Linked DNA regions of Homo sapiens: regions 1, 3, 4, 5, 6 and 7 are each linked to region 2. The links are contacts of gene promoters, found by promoter capture Hi-C in blood cells and fetal thymus (Javierre and others, 2016). All regions are on one chromosome and are shown on one strand. The core of a region is centred on a gene start or on the middle of the fragment in contact, and the rest is flanking DNA. Distances in the headings are between cores, read along the strand shown. Region 1 overlaps MIGA1 (mitoguardin 1). Region 2 holds the start of ZRANB2 (zinc finger RANBP2-type containing 2). Region 3 has its middle 9.8 kb from the start of DNAJB4. Region 4 has its middle 2.4 kb from the start of MIR6068. Region 5 has its middle 3.2 kb from the start of USP1. Region 6 overlaps FUBP1 (far upstream element binding protein 1). Region 7 overlaps FUBP1 (far upstream element binding protein 1).

Region 1 (2,897 bases), core at 272-2,771, 6.7 Mb after region 2:
TTTATTGTGGTAAGGTACAAATAACATAAAATTGACCATTTTGATCATTTTTAAGTGTATAGTTCATTAGCCTTAAGTACATTCACATTGTTGTACAAACAATATCCAGAATTTTTTTCATCTTGCAAAACTCAAACTCTACAACTGTTTATCAACATCTTACTGTACCTCCTTCCCGTCATTCCCCACCACCATTCTGTTTCCTGTCTGTATGAATTCGACCAGGTACCTCACAAGTAGAACCCTACAGAATTTTTTTGTGACTAGCTCACTTTACTTAGCATAATGTCCTCAAGGTTCATCCATGTTGTAGCATATGTCAGCATTTCCTTTCTTTTTAAGGTAGAATAATATTTCGTTGTGTGGATATACTACATTTTGCTTATGTGTGTGTTTGTTGATGGACATTGGATTGCGTCCATGTTTTTGCTATTGTGAATAATGCTGCTATAAACATGGACATACAAATATCTCTTTGAGATCCTGCTTTTAATTATTTTGTGTCAAGTGAAATTGCTGGATCATACAGTAATTCTACTTTTAATTAAATTTATTTATTTATGTATTTATTTATTTATTATTATTTTTTAGAGGCAGGGTCTTGCTTTGGAGTACAGTGGCAAGATCATAGCTCACTGCAGCCTCAAACTCCTGGGGTCAAGCAATCCTCCCACTTCAGCCTCTCAAGTAGCTGGGACTACAGGCATGTGCCACCATCTCTCCACCAGTTTTTAAATTTTTTGAAGAGACAGAGTCTCAGCATGTTGACCAGGCTGGTCTTGAACTCCTGGCCTCAAATCATCCTCTCACTTTGACCTCCTAAAGTACTGGGATTATAGGTGTCAGCTGGTTCACCCAGCCCTATTTTTAATTTTTTGAGGAACTGCCATACTGTTTTTCACAGTAGCTGTACCACTTTACGTTTCTACCAATAGTGCACAGTTTTTCCACATAGTGCACAGTTTTTCCACATCCTCATCAATGCTTGTTATTTTCTATTTCATTGATAGTAGCCATCCTAATAGGTATGAGGTTATATTAGTCCGTTTTCATGCTGCTGATAAAGATATACCCAAGACTGGGCAATTTACAAAAGAAAGACGTTTATTGGACTCACAGTTCCACATGGCTGGGGAGGTCTCACAATCATGGTGGAAGGTGAAAATCACATCTCATATGGCGGCAGACAAGAGCTTGTGCAAAAAAACTCCCATTTTTGAAACTGTCAGATATTGTGACACTTACTCATTATCATGAGAACAGCAAGGGAAGGACTTGTCCCCATGATTCAGTTACCTACCATTGGGTCCCTCCCACAACACGTGGGAATTCAAGATGAGATTTGGGTGGGGACACAGCCAAACCATATCATTCTGCTCCTGGCCCCTCCCAAATCTCATGTCCTCACATTTCAGAAGCAATCATGCCTTCCCAACAGTCCCTCAAAGTCTTGACTCATTTCAGCATTAACTCAAAAGTCCACAGTCCAAAGTCTCATCTGAGACAAGGCAAGTCCCTTCCACCTATAAGCCTGTAAAATCAAAAGCAAATTAGTTACTTCCTAGATAGAATGGGGGTATGGGCATTGGGTAAATATGGCTATTCCGAATGGGAAAAATTGGCCAAAACAAAGGAGCTACAGGCCCCATGCAAGTTTGAAATCCAGCAGGGCAGTCAAAAATTTTTTTTTTTTTTTGAGAGGGAGTTTGGCTCTTGTTGCCCAGGCTGAAGTGCAATGGTACAATCTTGGCTCACCGCAACCTCTGCCTCCCGAGTTCAAGCGATTCTCCTGCCTCAGCCTCCTGAGTAGCTGGGATTACAGACATGTGCCACCACGCCTGGCTAGTTTTGTATTTTTAGTAGAGATGGGGTTTCTCCATGTTGGTCAGGCTGGTCTTGAACTGCTGACCTCAGGTGATCTGCCTGCCTTGGCCTCCCAAAGTACTGGGATTACAGGTGTGAGCCACTGCACCCGGCCAGGGCAGTCAAATATTAAAGTTCCAAAATGATCTCTTTTGACTCCATGTCTCACATCCAGGTCATGCTGATGCAAGAGGTGGGTTCCCATGGTCGTAGGTAGCTCTGCCCTTGTGGCTTTGCAGGGTACAGCCTCCCTCCCGGCTGCTTTTATGGGCTGGCATTGAATGTCTGTGGCTTTCCCAGGTGTATGGTGCAAGCTGTTGGTGGATCTATCATTCTGGGGTCTGGAGGACGGTGGCCCTCTTCTCACAGCTGCACTAGGCGGTGCCCCAGTAGGGACTCTGTGTGGGGCCTCCGACTCCATGTTTCCCTTCTGTACTGCCCTAGCAGAGGTTCTCCATGAGGGCCCACCCCTGCAGCAAACTTCTGCCTGGGCATCCAGGCATTTCCATACATCTTCTGAAATCTAGGTGGAGGTTCCCAAACTCCAATTCTTGATTTCTGTGCACTGGCAGCCTCAACACCATGTGGAAGTTGCTAAGGCTTGTGGCTTGCACCCTCTGAAGCCACAGCCCAAGCTCTATGGTGGCCCCTTTCAACCATGGCTAGAGTGGCTGGGATGCAGGGCACCAAGTCCCTAGGCTGCACACAGCACGGGGACACTGGGCCTGGCCCCTGAAACCACTTTTTCCTCCTAGGCCTCCTGGCTGGTGATGGGAGGGGCTGCCGTGAAGACCTCTGACATGCCCTGGAGACATTTTCCCCATTATCTTGGGGATTAACATTTGGCTTCTCTTTACTTATGCAAATTTCTGCAGCCTGCTTGAACTTCTCAGAAAATGGAATTTTCTTTTCTATGGCATTGTCAGGTTGCAAATTTTCCAAACTTTTGTGCTCTGCATCCCTTATAAAACTGAATGCCTTTAACAGCACCCAAGTCACCTCTTGAATGCTTTGCTGCTTAGAGGTTTCTTCTG
Region 2 (3,351 bases), core at 576-3,075:
CAAAAAGATTCAATAATTGTAAGAAAACTGAGTTTTACAGGGCATTTCTCAAACCTCTGAGACTTCGCTGAAAAAAATGACACAACCACCAAAACCAATAATCTCAACACATGTAGTACAGTAAGACTTTATGCTTATACTCAACAAACTCAAACCTAAAGAATTACTGGTTCACTCACATGACCTTAGAAGTGTACGTGTATATTGGTAAAAGTATGTTAAATGCTCTGGATAACATGGAATGCTTAAACTTTAAAAAGCTGATTTTTAAGGCATTATACTAGAATACAATACAGATGTGAAGTATGGGATGACACTAAAGTGAAACACTCTAAATAATATTTAGGTTAAGTTTTTCCCCTAAAAATATTCCTTTTAACTCCATTAAGCATGGAAAATATACTCTGAAAATTTATCCTGCATTTAAACATATTGTACAAACAACATTCTATTCATATATTTGTAAATGAGTTGAAATGAACTCTCATTGAGAGTCCTACCTCTGGGTGTGCTGTCATTAAAGACACTGACAAAAGCACATTATTTTACAGGTAACAACAAAGTCAGAAGTTGTTGTTCTAAATCTTTTGAACGTTTTCAATAATGTCTTACCACTCAGAGCAATACTATCCATAACATATAACTTTGGTTCTATTCAGTATCATTTGTTAGGCTTGAACTACTCCTTCAGGTCATCTTAATATCAAATTACTATCAATAGCCACCAATTAGAATTTGCTACACGTCACTGTTTACACACCCTATCCATGTTATTTCATGTTTTCATTAAAAAAAAAATTCTATTCCTTTTTTAGCAGTTAAATAAGTAATAGAATTTTAACTAAACCCAGGTTTATTTCAAAGTTTTTGCTTTTTACAATCAAAACCTATTTGTGGCTAACTTAGGTACAACAAATAAAAGGCTTTTATGTGAACATGAGTTGTACATTAAATTATTTTCCATGTTATTTCCGAATAGATACACCTATTTGTGCACCCTTCAAAAAAAATCTGATTAACTATCTAGTCGAGTACTGGCTTTGGCAACAATGTCAAAAAGCAGAGCCACTAACACACGTGCTTCTCTGCTGCAGGCATCTTAAGGGCTGAGTAGGCAAAAACACAGGCCTCTTCCCTCCTTTTCGGCTCTAAGGAGGCGAAAAGCCCAATTCTTGTGGAGAAATGATCCACAAAGAAAATGTCAGAATTTCCCAAACCGAAGAGGGTAGAGCTTCCGGAAAAGGGGAAAATAGTATGGAGGAAAAGTTTGAGTAAAAATACAAAACAAGGTGAACTATAAGAGGCAAAAGGACGAGTGCGAGAAAGCAATATTTTCCGTGAACAAGAGTAAAGTTCTGCAGAGAAAAGTCACGTGGGGGAGATCCAACACCAAGCTGGCCTGACTGGAGAGGTTTCCTATCGCTAAAACCTGGCCGGGGCGGGGGAGGGGGGTGGGGGCAAAAAGGTAGGCCATCTCGCACTCTAAAAAGAGAGGCTACCTTGCGGAGGTAATGTCGAGGAAACGCTGAAGACATATCTAGAACAAAGGCTCCCGGAAAGACCTCTCTCGTGAGGAGATTGGGAGCCTTCTTCCCGCCAGGGAACTGGCGGTTCGCCGCCTCAACCCGTCTTAAGGCACAGAAAATCATAAAAAAGGAAAATGCCGGACGGACCTCGGAAAGCTTCCACTAACAAACTCCGTCCCAATTCAGGACCCTTCTTGAACTCACTTTTTGTCAGGGCAAATCCAGTCCCCGTCACTGACTCGGAAATTCTTGGTCGACATCTTGAACGCCACCAGCACAGCCACCCGCAGCTATGTCTTCACAGGAGGAAAACGGGCCGGGGACTTTCGGCAACTCGGGGCTGTCCCCACACTGCCTGACTCGCGCCTACTACTGTGTCAGGGTTTGATAATGAGGGAACTAGCCAGGAATTCAGCTTGTACGTTGTTGTCCAGACTAAGATGCCTGTGCTACTGTTTGTTAGATGGAAAAGTTAAAATACAAATATCTTTTCTAGAACTAAACTCACAGGCGCCATAAGGACAACCCAGGCAGGAGGCCTTCGTGGCACTAGAAGCCTCGGAGAGCCCCCTACAGGTGGGAGGACCCAAGAGTAAAGTACTTCCGCTTCCTTAGGTGGAGCTGGAAAGGTGGAGGCGGAAGTGACTGATCAATTCAGGGGCGTGGGGTTCGTTTAGGGTAAGAGGCGGCTCGGGCTCTTCAAGTGTTTAGAGAAATTATTTTAATAAGGCATAAAAATTCTGTTATTTCATACACATGGGATGTCGTTTGGAAACCTATTTTTATATATACATAAATAGGTGTAACAGATAAGTAAGCAACTTATACATGGGAACCAGCTGGTAATTTTAAAACTGAGACATTGTCAACACTGTTTAAATTACCAGTGTCTTTTCTGATACCATCCCATTACTTTCTTCCACAGATAACACTTTCCCATATTTGGGATTTATTCTTTTGCTTTTTAAAAATTTATGTACGTTGTTAGTCCAAACTGCACCATTTTTGTAAGCCCCCCTGCCATTTTGCAGACCTTAGTCAAAGTGAAACATTCCACGGGGTTCGGGCGTGAGAAACAGGCTGCCTCTTATACTCTGCTGGGAGAAAGTACCACATTCCACTGGAACAAGGGCCAGAGCCGCCTCGTCCTGGGAACACCTTATCAACATGTTCCCAGGAAGCAGGCCATGGCCCCCCAGACCACTCCCACCCAGGCCTATAAATCACCCCAGCCTGTAAGAAGCAACGGGCACTGGCATTAAGCTGGTCTCCCACCTCTGTAGGTCTTATGCTGGACATAAATCCTGTATTTGTTGTTAAGCCACCCTCTCTTTCTTTAATCCTTGCCTTCCCTTCAAAACCTAACATACATGTATGTTTAATTTTATGAGCTGTGTAAGCATAGTTGATTCTGTACTCTTTTTTTGTTCATTATGCTTCTAAATTAATCCTAGGTAGTTGCATGTAGAAGTGTATAGGTGTAATTCTTTTATTTGCACTGATGTATACTGATACTATTCCGTTTTGTGGTTTTGTGACAGTTTATTCCTTCTGTTTCTCAGGCTTGGTATTACAAACAACACCAGTATGAGCATTCTTATGCATAGATTCTGGTATATAAATGCATTAATTTTTTTTAGAATACAGCATATACAGTCATGCCTCACTTAATGATAGGGATATGTTCTGAGAAATGCCACTTTCGGCAATTGTGCTGTTGTGTGAACATCATAGAATGTGCTTACACAGGCCTAGCAGGTATAGCCTACTACACACCTAGGCTATATGGTATAGCCTATTGCTCCTAGACTACAAACCTGCATTT
Region 3 (2,947 bases), core at 64-2,563, 6.9 Mb after region 2:
AGGGACTATGTATTATACTGTTTTATCCTTCATGTTACATGTAACAGTATAGCACAGTGGGGTCTCAGTAATGGTTGGCTTGATATGCTGATTTGACCTAGATAACAAAAAGTTTATATTTTTGAAATATTAATAACTTGAACATTAAAACCCATCCATTTACAGTTAATTTATTTTAGAGATATATTTTTCTCTAAATATCCTTCTTTAGACAATTATAATAGTTCAAGCTTATGCATTTGGAATTAGGTAGTCAATGGCTGAATTTTATAGTAGTTGGTAAATACTATAGGACATACGGGCTTATTTATATAAATGTTCTAATACTTATATTTGGTAGCCATTATTAAAGTCTTCGAATCATAGTTAAGTCTCCATGGTAGCAGTGGTTTCGTGATTATGTTTTAATGGATGCAGTATACGATAAAGTTAATTCATAGTTAAAGTTTGGTACTGATTTAAATTAAATCATTTGAGAGGCCAGGCACAATGGCTCACACCTGTAATCCTAGCACTTTGGGAGGCGGAGGTGGGAAGATAGCTTGAGCCCAGGAGTTCAAGACTAGCCTAAGCAAAATAGGGAGACCCTATCTCTACAAAAGAAAAAATAGCTAGACATGGTGGCACATGCCTGTAGTCCCAGCTATTTGGGAGGCTGAGTTGGGAGGACTACTTGAGCCCCGGAGGCTGAGACTGCAGTGAGCCATAATGAAACCACTGCACTCTAGCCTGGGTGACAGAGCAAGACTGTCTCAAAAAAAAAAAAAAAAGAAAAAAATTATTTGAGAATTGTAAACAATTAGCTAAACAAACTTGCTAAATAATCAGTTTGTTGCAGTCTTGGCTAAGAGCCTAATAATTCAATGAAACAGCTGCATATCCTCTCCTCCTCTTGGGCTACAGACATTTTTTTTCTGTGTACTCCTTAAACTACTCTCTCTCTTTTTTTTTTTTTTTAACTACTCTCATTTTTCTAATGAGCCAATTAAGATGACATCTCAGGCCACATATAAGAAAAGAGTATGAGAAGAGACATTTTAGAAAAGATAAAAGTGAAAATCACGTAGATTCCTCATTTCCAAGTGTTGCTTTTACAATTAAACATTGTGAAAGTGTATGTCAACTGAGCATGTGTAAATACATTCCTACTACCTTAAGTGTAAAGTATTATTTTGAAAAAAATTATCATATTGTTTATATGGATGAACAATGTAGTACTATTTTATAAGTAAAATAGAGTTCACCTGTTAAGACTTTATTTACCCTAAATGTGCATGTGAGAGGTATGTATGTGTGGTATACTTGGGCTGAGATTCACAGGCTGAGATTTCTGAAAAATTGGATTATAGTACTGCCGACTAGAAGGAACCACTAGATCTGCACTGTCCAACACAGTAGCCACTAGCCACATGAGACTCTTAAGCTACTGAAATGTACCTATCTGAATTGAGGTCAAAGTGTAAAATACATGCTGTATTTCAAATATTTAGTACAAAAAATAAAGAATGTAAAGTATTTCATTGATAATTTGTATTTTGATTATATGCTGCAATGATAATATTTTGGATTTACTAGGTTAAATAAAATACATTATTAAAATTAATTTCACGTTTGTTTTTACTTTAAAAAAATATGGTTTCTGGAAATGTGGCTTGCATTTGTAGCTTGCTTTATATTTCTGTTGGACAGCACTGGTCTAAATAGTGTGATCTTTCAACACAGGCAAAATGTTATAATGAAATATTAGTTTATCAAGACCCATTTAAAATGATGTAGAAACTCTAGCTCTTTTTAAAATTTTTTGGCTAATACAGTGTTTTTGGTTTTGAGACAGTCTTGCTCTGTTGCCCAGGCTTGAAGTGCAGTGGTGTCGTGATCATGGCTTATTGCAGCCTCATCTCCCTGGGCTCAAGTGATCCTCCTGCCTCAGCCTCCCAAGTAGCTAGGACTACAGGTGCATGCCACTACATCTGGCTAATCTGTTTTATTTTTTGTAGATACGAGGTCTCACTATGTTGCTCAGCTGGTCTTGAACTCCTAGACTCAAGTGATCCTTTTGCCTTGGCTTCCTAAAGTACTGGGATTACAAGTGTGAGCTATCACCCTGGGCCTAACTCAGTGTTTAAAATCAGTGTAAAGAACACTTTATTTTAAATTAGCTGGGTGTGGTGGCACATGCCTGTAGTCCCAGCTACTTGGGAGGCTGAAATAGGAGAATCACTTGAACCCGGGAGGCGGAGGTTACAGTGAGCCCAGACTGTGCCATTGCACTCCAGCCTGGGCAACAGAGTGAGATTCTGTCTCAAAAAACAAAACAAAACAAAAAAAGAACTCTTTAAATTATTTCAAAATGCCAGAAAAGTATATTAGCTCGCCATACATTCACTAGTCATTAGCAAGCTTTCAAGGACTTATTGTAAAAGAGGGTAACAAAGAAGGGCTAGTTGTTGCTTGAATATTTTATTCATCCCAGTTAGAATAAGTTAGTTCTATACTCCCCAAAAAAGGAAATGATATATATATTTTTTGGATACAGGGTCTTATTGTGTCACTCAGGTTTGAATACAGTGGCATGATCACGGCTCACCTGCAGCCTTGACCTCCTGGACCCAAGCCATCCCCCTGCCTGAGCCTCCTGAGTAGCTGGGACTACAGGCACATGCCACCATGCCTGGCTGATTTGTAAATTTTTTGTAGGGATGGAATTCTCACTTTGTTACCCAGGCTAGTCTCAAACTCCTGGGCTCAAGTGATCCTCTCACCTCGTGCTTCTAAAGTGCTGGGATTACAGGTGTAAGCTACTGCACCTGGCTGATTTATTTTTTTAAGTATAAAATATGTCTGATCCCCTGGGTGTCTCCAAATCTAGTAATTTCTATACATTTAAAGCAATTTTATTTTCTTGTTTTTTGAAAGGTAGGTACTTTTTAATTTTTTAAACAATTTA
Region 4 (3,006 bases), core at 298-2,797, 7.8 Mb before region 2:
TCTCGAGAAGCTGATTTCCTCCTTTCCCCCGCCTGTGTCCTGGGAGGAACAGAGTCCCGAGGGGAGTTTGTCCTAAAGATTGGGAGGCAATAAAGTTTAGTGATGAGGAAACATTGACTTGGAAGCAATTAAGAGTTATATTTGAGGTTATTTATTTCACATGGTTTATAGGGTGAGTCTTGGTAGTGAGAACATGAAAGGCTGACATGAGTGTGTGAGAGGTGGGTATTTTTAACGTGAGTCCCTTGAGAAACTGTCCTGAGGGGTATGTGATCTGAAAGAAAGTGGGTTCCAGAGCCTTGTGTCCCCGGACTCCACCTGTGTCCCCGGTGGTACAAGCTGCAGAATAAAGTAGTGAAGGGAGGAGGTTGGAAGGGCATTCTGAAAGTGCCAGGCTGAACCTTGTGGGGAGCCGTCTGTTTCAAGGGAGGAGGCGACAGGAAGAAGCGGGATGAGAAAGGCCTTGCAGAAGGCGTTCCAACAGGGATTAGGCATTTCCTAACTGTGACTTTGGACAAGCTGCTTGGTTTCTTTCAATGACTGCATTTCCTCGACCCTACAGTGAGAATGAGTCTGCCTGTCACCTGGGCTTACAGAATTAGGTGAGTTGGTGTCAGTGAAAAATGTCTTATAAACTGTAAAGTGCTGGGGGCGTGTACAGTGTGTTTTTTAATGGCTTCTGCACGAAGAAACAACTCTGTTCTAAGCACTGGTACACGGCCAAATACATTGGCTCGGTTCTGAACCATTTGATTTTAGGTATGAAAGGTGGATTTTTCTAAGAGGGGTTGCAGAACCCATCCCAGGAAACTCCCACCCCAGAAGAGGCTTTTAAAAGGTGGAGCTTCCTCCTGGTCTGTAGGCCTTTCACTATGCCTGCGGAGAAGCTCTCGGTGCCCACCCATCCTTCAGCCTGCACCCCCAGCTCCAGGGGCAGGGCATACGTCTCTCTTCTCTCTGGCAGAGCGGCCTACTCTGCTGTTTGCCCCTATGCTTCCACTATCCGAGGCAAGTGGGGAAATCTGAGTCCACCGCTGACAGACTCCCATTAGTGCAAGATGCGGCCTGGGAGGCGAATTAAAGGTAACCAGATCCCAAACTCACTTAAAAGACCACCCTCCCCTTGCTGCCCTCCAACAGTTGGCAGAGTTACACCCAGAGCCAACTTCTCTCTTCGCCACTCCCCCTCCTTGCCCTCTGAGGAATGTACAAGCCATTCTTTGCTCCCTGGGGTACACAAAACAAAATTTGAAAAGAAATGTAAAACTAGCCAGGGTGTCTGTAAGAAAGCATAACCATCTCATTTTTATTTCCCGAAGTGCCGTCATATATTAGAATTTTCCTAAATGCAGAATTAAATTGGTCCCCTCCCCCATTTTAACATAAAACTGCTACCTAAGGCTCTTCTCCAGATCATTTGTGCTTTTGCACACAGCTCCATCCCATCAGGGGTGAGGCGGGGAAGAAGAGGGACACCTTCACTCTCTTGCCTGAGTCCTCTGGTGCTGAATTCCGAACCCGTCTTCAGAAAAACAGTCCTAGAATATCGGCATTAGAAGTGGCCTCCGGGGTCACCCTGGAGGCCCTCTTTTCACACAGGCCCACCCAGAAGGTTCTGGGACTTACCCAGGGTCACTCAGCAGCCCAAGTGCAAGCTATGGAAGTACTCGGAGGAGGAAAAAGTGTGCTTTACCCAGCAAGAAGGCGCCACTTGAGGAAACAAAAACAGCAGACTCTGGGGCAAGGAAGATTGGGGAGGGTTGAGAGGAGAAGGGAAAGACAGACACAGACGCGCCGGGCCGGTGGAACTCAGCTCCGGGAAGGCTGTGGACCTGGACCCTGGGGCTCCCCGCTGCCTGGGCGCCTCTAGCCCGGCGATGAGTGGTTCTGCGGGGACCGACGGCCCCATTTCCTTCTTGCCTCGTGATGTGGGAGGGAAGAAAGAAGGCGGCAACTGCAGGCCCGAAGCTCCCCTCGCCCAGCGGCCCAACCACAGTGCTGTCGTGTCGGGGATCGGTCCCCAAGGGAGCCCCCAACCCCCTGCCCACGCCGAGATCACCCCCGTGCCAACCTCGAGGGCTCGGCCTGCGGGACTCCAGCTGCCCCTGCCTGGAGGGAGGGAAGGGAGAAGAGAATACGAATTAATTACGAAGGAAACCCAGGTGTGAAAGGCACCCGCCGCGGAGCTGGGCGTGCAGCGGGGCGCGCGGTGGGACCTCTGCTCCCGTCCCCGTCCCGCGGCTACTCAGTTGCCCGCTCATGGGAGGCTCGCGACGGAAAATAAATCCCCTCAGAGTGAACCTGGGAGGCCGAGAGGACCCAGCCTGGGATCTCTGGGGGAAATAGGGGCAAGTTTACCACGGTTTAATTAAGCCACAGCCCTAGCACGAGGACCCCGGCGACCCATCCGGGCTGGGGGATGGACTGGAGTGCCCCCCACCCCAGGCCGCGAACCGGCAGCGAGAAGCACACTCTCCGCCATCCCCGGCCCCGCCGCTTCCGCCTCTGCGGACTCCGCGTTTGCCATGCTCCTTCCCGGGGTCCAGGGACCGGAGCTGCGGTGCACGTCTTATTGAAGGGGAGAGCTTTGGTTCTTTTCCTCCCTGCATCCCTCCCACTTTCCTCTCAACAGATAGTAAGCAAGACTCAATTTTCTCCAAAAAAGCCCGTTACCCCTTTCTGCAAGGGGCGCATGCCTAGGTTCACAGGGAGCTCTCTTGTCAGCCCCAGAACAACCCTAAACTCCAAATGTTCTGTTTGCTCTCGAGGTACCCCTGGGATGCAGCGTCTCCTCCGCGAAGCCTTCCTGAGCCTCCCTGCCCAGACCAGTTGCTCCTTCTTGAAGCTCACCGTGCCAATTAATGAGCCATTGTCATTAGTGTTGCCCTCTGAGTTCCTGGTGAGTTCCTGACCGTCTAGCATTGCTGAGCACAAAGGGGACGATCTAAATTATTTGTCTGATGAATAACAGCTTCGCACCACGGGAGCGGGGATAGGGGATCTTGA
Region 5 (3,136 bases), core at 64-2,563, 8.6 Mb before region 2:
AGGTAGAAGCCACATGTTGAGAATGGAAGAAATTAATTAGGTCCCTGATGGTCACAGAACCACCATACTAATCTAGACTGCCTACTTCTGCATTATGTATACATGATAAAGACATGAATATTAATTTTAGCTAAGGACACTTAAAAATATTCTGTTACTTATAAACAAACCTATTCCTATCGGATGCAGAGTTTGGTTCCTATAAATTTGTGCTACACATAACCTTAAAAGAAATGTGGTTTTTAGTGGAAGCATTTGGGCAGTGGGTGGTAAAGACTCAGATACTGCAAGATGGAAAACTGGTGACCTTTGTTCTCCAGTTGCCAGACATTTGGTAAACCTGTTGCCAGCTTTAGAAGACAGATCACACGCCAATCAAAATTGTGGCACGAAGGGAAATGGCTGGAAATATCTATAAACTTGGTATTTGCTGGCTTTTTCTTGACACTTTAAACCAAGTTCTATGAGATATGAATTCAGGCCAGAAGTAACCAATTTGCATGTAGAAATGGAAAAGAATACAGTTTTGCTAAAGGAGAAATTCTGCTGTAATCCAAGTGGATTAAAAGTCTCATAATTTGGGCGGGACGTGGTGGTTCATGCCTGTAATCTCAGCACTTTGGGAGGCCGAGGCGGATCACGAGGTCAGGAGTTCGAGACTAGCCTGGCCAACACTGTGAAACCCCGTCTCTATTAAAAATACAAAAATTAGCTGGGCGTCGTGGCAGGCACCAGTAATCCCAGCTACTTGGGAGGCTGAGGCAGGAGAATTGCTTGAACCCAGGAGGTGGAGGTTGCAGTGAGCCAAGATCATGCCATTGCACTCCAGCCTGGGGGACAGAGCAAGACTCCATCTCAAAAAAATAAAAATAAAAGTTTCATAATTTGAAGATTTAAAGGGCGGAAAAAAACCACACTTCTTCTATACCTTTAGACTGAAGTACAGTTGGCCCTCCACATTCATGGGTTCCATATACATGGATTCAACCAACCACAGATCAAAAAATCTTATGAAAAAGGTACACAAAGTTCCAAAAAGCAAAACTTGAATTTGCCACGTGCCAAGTGTTAAATACTATGTTAAATCCATGTGAATGATGTGTAGGCATTGTATTAGGTAATTAAGTAATCTAGAGATGATTTAAAGTATAGGTGGGATGTGCATAAGTTGTATGCAAATACTATGCCATTTTATATATGGGACTTGAGCATCCTCGGATTTTGATATCCATAACGGTCCTGGAACCAATCCCCCATGGATACCAAGGGATGACTGTACACAGAAACAGTGCCTGTGAAACTTTGGAAGGAAATATGCCTGGCATTTACCCACACAAGACTGACAAATATAGGATTGAGAATGCTGTGAACCTATTAAATCCCATTGTTTCCAAAGGGATTAGCTGTCATTAAGAGTGGGGTAACTGGGGAGCACACAGAAACTGGGAAAAAAGTTTCGGGGCTTAAAAACTCATCTAGGCAAGAACTGTGGCTAGAATTTCTCCCACAAACAACTGACTGAAAGCAAAAGAATGAGAAGCATATTAAATTTTTACATTAATCATATTGCCAGAGACACACCAAACTTCTGCTATTGCTGTTGACAAGCACAGTTGTGGAGGTGTTTGATTTTTCTGAAGCAGCATTAGCAGAAACCTCAGTGTCTAGCCACTTGTCCTGTGGGCCTTGACAGACGGGACGTAGGATATGCATGGCACTGGTGCAGATCATAGTGGGTATAGTGTGGTTCTAGGGTCAGCGGTGCACGCAGCTTTCTGATGGTGGTTTCCTAGGCATGGCAGCAGCAGTGTGATTCAGAGACGTCATTTCCTGATCATAGAAGAGTCATTGCTTCCTTGGTGGCCTGGTTCTGGGAAGACTTTGGGACTCATTCCTGAAAAACTAATCTAGAGCCTATTTAATCAACCCTCCCAAGTATTCAATATCTTTGTGTTTATACTAGCTAAAATGGATTCTATTTTCCGCAAATGAATCTTAACTGATACCACACATTGTGTACAGGAAGAATAGTGGCTGCAGACAATAGGATCTCAGGAATATGGGAAAGTAGAATTGCTTATCTGTTCTCGTAGAGTTTGAAAGTAGCAATAATTATGCTAGTACTAGAAAATGAGACACTGCCACTCTGTGGTGCACAATGGCTAAGACTGACCTATATACATTTTCTAATCTTGTCCTTGTGTATTTCGTGATCTGCTGGTTCAACATCTGTTTGTACGTTAAACACCTCAATCTTAATATTCTAAGAACGATGATCCTTCCCATTGAGCCTACTAAGACCCCCATTTTAGCAAGGACCAACACTGAGTTGCTCAGGTTAAAAAAAAAATCGTTACTCTTTGTTTTTTTTTCTTTTTTCGGGTGGGAGGGTGGAGGGCAGGGCCTCACACTGTTGCCCAGGCTGGAGTGCAGTGGTGCATCTCGGCTCACTGCAGCCAGGGGATCCTCCTCCCTCATCCTCCCGAGTGGCTGGGACTACAGGCACGTGCCACCACGCACGGCCAATTTTTGGAGTTTTTTGTAGCGATGGGTCTTGCCATGTTGCCCAGGCTGATCTTGAACTCCTGGGTTCAAGCGGTCCACCGGCCCTGGCTACCCGACCTGTTTTTTCTTACATTATCATACAGCCAATCCATCAGTAGAGCTCGTTGGCTGTGCTCAAAATATATCTTGAACCCTACCAGTTTTCAACATCCCACCATCTTATTCCAGACTACCATAATTTATTCCTTGGCTTATTGAACCAGCATCTTGGCTGACCTTTCCGCTGGTACTTTTCTTTTTTTGAGACAGAGTTTTGCTCTGGTTGCCCAGGCTGGAGTGCAGTGAGGCGATCTCGGCTCACCGCAACCTCCGCCTCCTGGGTTCAAGCGATTCTCCTGCCTCAGCCTCCGGAGTAGCTGGGATTACAGGCCTGCGCCACCACGCCCGGCTAATTTTGTATTTTTAGTAGGGACGGGGTTTCTCCATGTTGGTCAGGCTGGTCTCGAATTCCCGACCTCAAGAGATCAGCCCGCCTTGGCCTCCCAACGTGCTGGGATTACAAGCGTGAGCCACCACGCCCGACCCTGCTTGTACTCTTGAAGGTCAACGTGTAATCCCGCCACTCCCCAGC
Region 6 (2,942 bases), core at 59-2,558, 6.9 Mb after region 2:
CTTTCATCCCAAAGATAAAAGACTTGCTCTAGAGTTAGCTTGCAAGATTCTATTAGAGCCTAAGAGCCAGCCTTGCATGAATAGATTTTCACACTCAGTTGTCTTCCCATATAACTGTACCTTTCCCACAAGTCCTCACTCTACCCTCCTTTAGGCTTAAGGTACCAGATTCTTCAGGGTTCAGAGTCTACCACATCAGTCCTTATCATAATGGCCTTCCTCAAGTCAAACTTTTCCCAAATGTCTTCACTTCTCCAAACAAGAATTACTCCTTTCTATTTTGAAACCCTGTTTGTTCTCTTAAGGGTCTTAAAAAAATCCCTGTATTCTAGCTTTAAAAACACCCATCTTTACTGCTGTTCCTTATAAGCCTCTGAAATCTTATCAAGATTTTCTCTACTTGGGAGGCTGAGGCAGAAGAATTGCTTCAACCTGGGAGGTGGATGCTGCAAGTGAGCCGAGATCATGCCACTGCACTTCAGCCTGGGCGACAGGGAAAGGCTCCATCTCAAAAAAATAAAATAAAAAAAAATAAAATAAAAATTTATCCTCTTAGTTTGGTGTTATCCTTGGGAACTTAGAATTGTTTTGAAATATAAACCTAATTTTGGGAAACTTAACCCACACCTGTTTTCAATAGTTTTTTTTTTTTTTCAGTAAATAAGCAAATAATGACAAATTAAAATCTATGAATGGAGTTTTCTGTTCTTAACAAGAAAAACTTAAATTAGGCTCCAAAAGCTGTGAAAGCCTGCCTAGTTTGGCAAAAGGGGCACTAGGATGGGGAATCAGGAAATCTGAAGTCCTAGCATCATACCCCTGCCACTGGAAAAGTCAACAACAGTTGGCTTTGAGATAAAGATATCTCCCTATTATTCCCTTTCTCCTTCCATTTAAGAAATGTGAAGACTGAACCAAGTTTTATGCTTTAAGGTTTCTTATTTGTGGTAAAAAGATCCTGATGACAGGTAAGGTACCTAGAAGAAATTAAAGCAGTTAAGCAACTAATCATTTACAAAAAGAACTTTTATAGAAAAAGACAAATTGACTCCGTATGATGATGACAAATGCTCATCAAGCACCTGACTAAATTACCTAGCATTATTTCCTTTAAGATATACACATGTGGCCAGGCGCAGTGGCTCACACCTGTAATCCCAACACTTTGCGAGGCTGAGGCGGGTGGATCACCTGAGGTCAGGAGTTCGAGACCAGCCTGGCCAACATGGTGAAACTCTGTCTCTACTAAAAATACAAAAATTAGCTGGGTGTGGTTGGGCGCCTGTAATCCCAGCTACTTGGGAAGTTGAGGCAGGAGAATAGCTTGAACCCAGGAAGCAGAGGTTGCACTGAGACGAAATCGCACCATTGCTTGGGGAGTAAGACCAAGACTCCGTCTTAAAAAAAACAACAACAACGAGATATGCATGTGAAGGACTTGCCCAACTAATCTGTTTTGCTCATAAAATTAACAGGTGAGGCTGGGTGCAGTGGCTCACACCCATAATCCCAACACTTTGGAAGGCTGAGGCAGGTGGATCACCTGAGGTCAGGAGTTTGAGACCAGCTTGGCCAACATGATGAAAGCCCGTATCTACTAAATATACAAAAAATCAGCCGGATGTGGTAGCAGGCGCCTGTAATCCCAGCTACTTGGGAGTATGAGGCCGGAGAATCGCTTGAACCTGGGAGGCGGAGGTTGCAGTGAGCTGAGATTGCGCCACCGCACTCCAGCCTGGGCGAGAGTGAGACTCCCTCTCAAATAAATAAATAAATAAAATTAACAAGTGATTATTGTGGTACTACAGAACAACAACAGAAAAGGTGGGGTAAGGAGGTTCTTTAGTCATACAGCATTATTATTTAACATCTAATTATTATTTAATTATTTCTATGCCATGTTTTCCTACAGAGGATTCAAGACAGTATAGTATAGTATCTCTAACTGGCAGGGAAATGGTAAAAAAAAATAAAAAATTAAAGACAAGGTAAAATGTCTTCCCTTAACAATAAAAATTAGAATTCCACCCACCCACTCATTTTGAGTAAAACATAAAAAGTAAAACAAAAAAGACTAAACAGTAAATGTATTAATGGCCATATTACAAATAATCAATATGGTAAAATAAAGCACAGAAGCCAAACTCATTCCTCCATAATTACCTAAATCCATTAACAAGCCTTTATTTTTACCTACTTAATAATAACTAGGGACCCTATCTAGGGGACATTACCCATTGAGAAAATAGAAGTTGAAGTTAGTGATTTTTAACCCAAACACGTGACCAGGTCTCACTATGATGCCAAGGCTGGCCTCAATCTCCTGTGTTCAAGGAATCCTTCCACCTTAGCCTCCCAAGCAGCTGGGACTACAAGTGTGTGCCACCGCACGTGGCTCATGCTCAAGTCTTTTAAAATGGTGATGCTATTTAATTAAAGTTAAGTTGATTACAGGTCCTGACCACAATGCTGTCAGGGCATGATTATTAATAGCATCCCTATTCATTCTAAAAAGGATCCCAGTTCAGAAAATAAATTATGTAACCAACCTTAATCAGAGTATGCTGTTTTTAAGTTAAAAGTTTCTTTTTGCCGAATTGTAGCTACTGTAGATCTGCCTAAGCTAGGTCACAAAAACATAATCTGTTAAAGCCTCAGAAAGAGACGGAACATGACTCTCCTAGGAAGCCATTCTAAGAGGAAAAACAATTTTTCTTTAAAAAGAAACCAGTTGTGCAAAACAACTTTATCATCAGGTATATGTAATTTTACATCTAGAAGATTAAAATCATCACCTTTCTGGAAATTTTTCTTTCTGTGGAGAATGAGAAACATTCTTTGGCAAAGAAAACATTGAAAATCCCAAGTAGACCGTTCTCTTATGACAAAACTCTACCACCTATAGGTTCTTTTTCTGCTAGTGAAGGATAACCAAGCTTACC
Region 7 (3,325 bases), core at 688-3,187, 6.9 Mb after region 2:
AATTGGAAATAGAAAAATGACGAAAATACAGCATATTAAAATCCATTCACGTATGAGTAAAACCAGTGAAGTGTCTTCTAAGCAATTTATATGTTTTTTAATATTATTAACAAGACGTCTGTGCAAACTTTCAATCTGGCACAATCCTAAAAGAGGGAAAATAAATTGTTTTCTATTAAGACAAAACTTCCTTTTTTAAAAAATTTTTTAAAAAATTTCTTTCAAATTTTACTTACCTTGTCTAGTTTTCTTTCCCCCCTTTTAGGCCAATATACAGCTTACAATTTTAACAACCTTATAATAAAAGTTAATATCTCAATAAAATAACAGAAAAATACCGAGAATCACTTCAACTAAACACTCTGAAAAACAATTTAAAATACTTAGAGTATAACTTACCTCCATCTTCTAAAGGTCTTTTTTGTCCCCCATAACCATAGTCATTTGAATTCAGTGATGTCCCTGCATCACCTCCAATTTTTGCTGCAATCTAAAAAAAAAAAAGAAAAATACCATCATAAACTATTATATACTATTCATTACTAAATTACCCCCATTTACTTCCTGATACATGTATATGTGAAATATTTAGTATCACATAAGAAAATTTACTTGAAAAATTAAAATTATAGTTCAATTTATTGCTACCATTAATACTTCAGGCAGTTAACATAATAATCATAAGATTATTAAACTTCTGATACATCCCTATAAGAAGCAACAAAGAAGTAATCAACTAGGAATCCGGAAGAGAGACCAGATTTAAAGAAAATCTGGATCCTATCTGGCTCTGTCATGACACTTCAAAAGATGTGTGTAAACACATAGAATGTGAACACTTTGTGGGACTCAAAGGCTATGCTATCTAGTAAGGTAGCCACTAGCCATATGTGGTTATTGAGTACTCAAAATGTGACTAGTCTGAAATGATACTTGCTCTAAGTGTAAAATTACTCACTGAATATTGAAAACCTGGAATATAAATCATCTTAAATTTTTATATTAAGCACATGCAAAGGGGGTAATATTTTGGATATGCTGGGTTAAACAAAACATGTGGCTCACATTGTACTTCTATTGGACAATGTTGTTCTAAGGATATATGTAGGAGTCCAGGGAGCTCGAGTCTTAAAAAAACCTCAGCTGCAAAACCATAATTCTTAGAAGATTTTTAAATTTTAGAGTAGGGCAAATAATTTATTGCACCTGACTGAACCAATTTAAGAAATACCCAGCTTTGCTGTCATGGTGGCTCATGCCTGTAATCTTAGCACTTTGGGAGGTGGAGGTGGGTAGATTGCTTGAGCTCAGGAGTTCGAGAGCAGCCTGGGCAACATGATGAAACTCCATCTCTACTAAATACAAAAATTAGCCAGGTGTGGTGGTGCACGCCCATAGTCCCAGCTACTCGGGAGGCTGAGGCACGAGAATCACTTGAACCCAGGAGGTGGAGGTTGCAGTGCACCAATATCATGCCCCTCTTGGATGACAGAGCAAGACTGTTACAAACAAAACAAAACAAAAAAAATAAAAAACAAAAAAAAAAACCTGGCTTCAAGTCACAAGTAGGGCACAATCAGCAGATACTTACTGAATTTTTCTATAAAAGGACAACCGAAGTAGTTCCCATTTCCATGGGGAATCATGGAGTGGTTCTGCCACATTGCTGAGTGGTCAGCAATAGGCCAAGCTCCACACTGCAATGCTGTACATTCATTATTGATGTGTGATGGGCTCATGAGAATTTATTATATAATTCTTTCAATTTTGAGTATATTTGAAATCTTCCATGAAAAAATATTAAAGAAAACCTAACTTTTGGTGACTGGGATTCCCCAAAGAGATCCCCATATGGATAACTGCTTCAAGTTTTTATTATCATCAGACAACTGGAGAGGGTAAAATTATAGTTAAGTGCTGAAGTCATAAATTCAACATGGATCACTTAAGTCTATGTATCAGTTCCCATATACTAACTTCATCAGACAACTGGAGAGGTTAAGATTATAGTTAAGTGCTTAAGTCATAAATTCAACATGGATCACTTAAGTCTAATTACATATCAGTTCCCATATACCAACTGTATTTCCTAGGACTCATAGATTTCCCTTTTCCTCATCTAAAAATGCAAACACCTACCACAAAGATTATTAGGATCAAGTACTAGATTGCTTGATAAAAAAAAAAAAAGGTACACTCTCAGCCGGACACAGTGGCTCATGCCTGTAATCCCAGCATTTTGGGAGGCCAAGGCGGGCAGATCACTGAGGTCAGGAGTTCGAGACCAGCCTGACCAACATGGAGAAACCCAGTCTCTACTAAAAATACAAAGAAATTAGCTGAGCGTGGTGGCGCATGTCACCCAGCTACTCGGGAGGCTCAGGTGGGAGAACTGCTTGAACCCAGGAAGTGGAGGTTACGGTGAGCCAAGATCACGCCACTGCACTCCAGCCTGGGCAACGGCATGAGACTCTGTCTCAAAAAAAAAAAAAAAAAAAAGGTAAATTCTCGCTTTGGTCAATCTAACCTTCTTTAACCATCTTTCACTTTACCAATTACAAACCTGTTTTTGTTTCTGGGTGTCTAATTTAAATCTTATTTTCCTAATAATGCCTGAAAACACTGCTTTTCCACCCTTAGGTCTTAAAGCACTTAGCATTTGAATTGTTCCTCAGGAAAGTAAATACACTGCTGGGTATCGACAGGCACTAATAGTAGAAGGAAAGTATTTCAGGCCAGAGAAAATGGTGCTACCAAGAATAGGAAACGGTTTAGCCTATGAATACCTTCTGCAGTTAGCTTTTATAAATACTCTATGAGTTTGCAAAGCAGCACTCCTTGAACTCCAAGACACTTCTATACAGAGAAAAGACACTTATTTATACAACTTTACCCACTGAATAGTTCAAAAACTAACCAAATGAAAATGAAAGCTGAGGCCAGGCGTGGTGGCTCATGCCTGTAATCCCAGCACTTTGGGAGGCCGAGGCAGGGCGGGGGGGATCATGAGTTCAGGAGTTCAAGACCAGCCTGACTGACATGGTGAAACACCACCTCTACTAAAAATACAAAAAAAAAAAAAAAAAATTAGCCAGGCACAGTGGTGCGCACCTGTAATTCCAGCTACTCGGGAGGCTCAGGCAGGAGAATCACTTGAACCCGGGAGGCAGAGGTCGCAGTGAGCCAAGATCGCACCACTGCACTCCAGTCTGGGTGACAGAGCGAGACTCTGTCTCAAAAAAGAAAAAAAGAAAAGAAAAGAAAAGAAAAGAAAAAATGAAAGTTGACAGTTCACACTAAAGAAACAGTAACAGCATTTCAAAAA

What was found. The method cuts DNA at HindIII sites, captures the fragments that hold promoters and counts their contacts. A CHiCAGO score of 5 or more calls a contact.
Region 1: a contact is called between a fragment that was not itself captured here and the fragment with the promoter of ZRANB2 in region 2, in 5 of 17 cell types (non-activated CD4 T cells, total CD8 T cells, naive CD8 T cells and 2 more). The highest score is 20.4, in non-activated CD4 T cells.
Region 3: a contact is called between a fragment that was not itself captured here and the fragment with the promoter of ZRANB2 in region 2, in 1 of 17 cell types (non-activated CD4 T cells). The highest score is 6.0, in non-activated CD4 T cells.
Region 4: a contact is called between a fragment that was not itself captured here and the fragment with the promoter of ZRANB2 in region 2, in 1 of 17 cell types (activated CD4 T cells). The highest score is 6.2, in activated CD4 T cells.
Region 5: a fragment that was not itself captured here is called in contact with the fragment with the promoter of ZRANB2 in region 2 in 6 of 17 cell types (total CD4 T cells, naive CD8 T cells, total CD8 T cells and 3 more); the score reaches 18.2 in total CD4 T cells.
Region 6: a contact is called between a fragment that was not itself captured here and the fragment with the promoter of ZRANB2 in region 2, in 7 of 17 cell types (total CD8 T cells, total CD4 T cells, naive CD8 T cells and 4 more). The highest score is 23.2, in total CD8 T cells.
Region 7: a contact is called between a fragment that was not itself captured here and the fragment with the promoter of ZRANB2 in region 2, in 4 of 17 cell types (activated CD4 T cells, naive CD4 T cells, non-activated CD4 T cells and 1 more). The highest score is 8.9, in activated CD4 T cells.

What each region holds. Positions count from the first base shown.
Region 1 is chr1:77,783,665-77,786,561 of GRCh38, forward strand. All of the region lies in intron 2 of MIGA1 (mitoguardin 1), which reads left to right. Among named protein-coding and RNA genes, the nearest start is that of MIGA1, 5.5 kb to the left of the region's middle. The HindIII fragment of the contact is 3,599 bases long and covers 1-2,897 here.
Region 2 is chr1:71,079,210-71,082,560 of GRCh38, forward strand. It overlaps ZRANB2 (zinc finger RANBP2-type containing 2), which reads right to left and starts at 1,826. Exons shown (of 10, transcript NM_203350.3): 1 at 1,731-1,826. The coding sequence starts at 1,786. ZRANB2-DT (ZRANB2 divergent transcript) reads left to right here and starts at 2,115. Exons shown (of 4, transcript NR_046217.1): 1 at 2,115-2,204. RefSeq lists an enhancer at 1,776-2,065. The HindIII fragment of the contact is 3,322 bases long and covers 1,681-3,351 here.
Region 3 is chr1:77,993,642-77,996,588 of GRCh38, forward strand. It overlaps a transcript of DNAJB4 not described here. Among named protein-coding and RNA genes, the nearest start is that of DNAJB4, 9.8 kb to the right of the region's middle. The HindIII fragment of the contact is 2,170 bases long and covers 229-2,398 here.
Region 4 is chr1:63,327,903-63,330,908 of GRCh38, forward strand. No RefSeq gene overlaps it. Among named protein-coding and RNA genes, the nearest start is that of MIR6068, 2.4 kb to the left of the region's middle. RefSeq lists an enhancer at 2,282-3,006. The HindIII fragment of the contact is 4,446 bases long and covers 1-3,006 here.
Region 5 is chr1:62,432,291-62,435,426 of GRCh38, forward strand. No RefSeq gene overlaps it. Among named protein-coding and RNA genes, the nearest start is that of USP1, 3.2 kb to the right of the region's middle. The HindIII fragment of the contact is 3,951 bases long and covers 1-3,136 here.
Region 6 is chr1:77,951,729-77,954,670 of GRCh38, forward strand. All of the region lies in intron 18 of FUBP1 (far upstream element binding protein 1), which reads right to left. Among named protein-coding and RNA genes, the nearest start is that of FUBP1, 26 kb to the right of the region's middle. The HindIII fragment of the contact is 3,252 bases long and covers 1-2,934 here.
Region 7 is chr1:77,969,526-77,972,850 of GRCh38, forward strand. FUBP1 (far upstream element binding protein 1) reads right to left here. Exons shown (of 20, transcript NM_003902.5): 2 at 400-490. Among named protein-coding and RNA genes, the nearest start is that of FUBP1, 7.9 kb to the right of the region's middle. The HindIII fragment of the contact is 4,235 bases long and covers 1-3,325 here.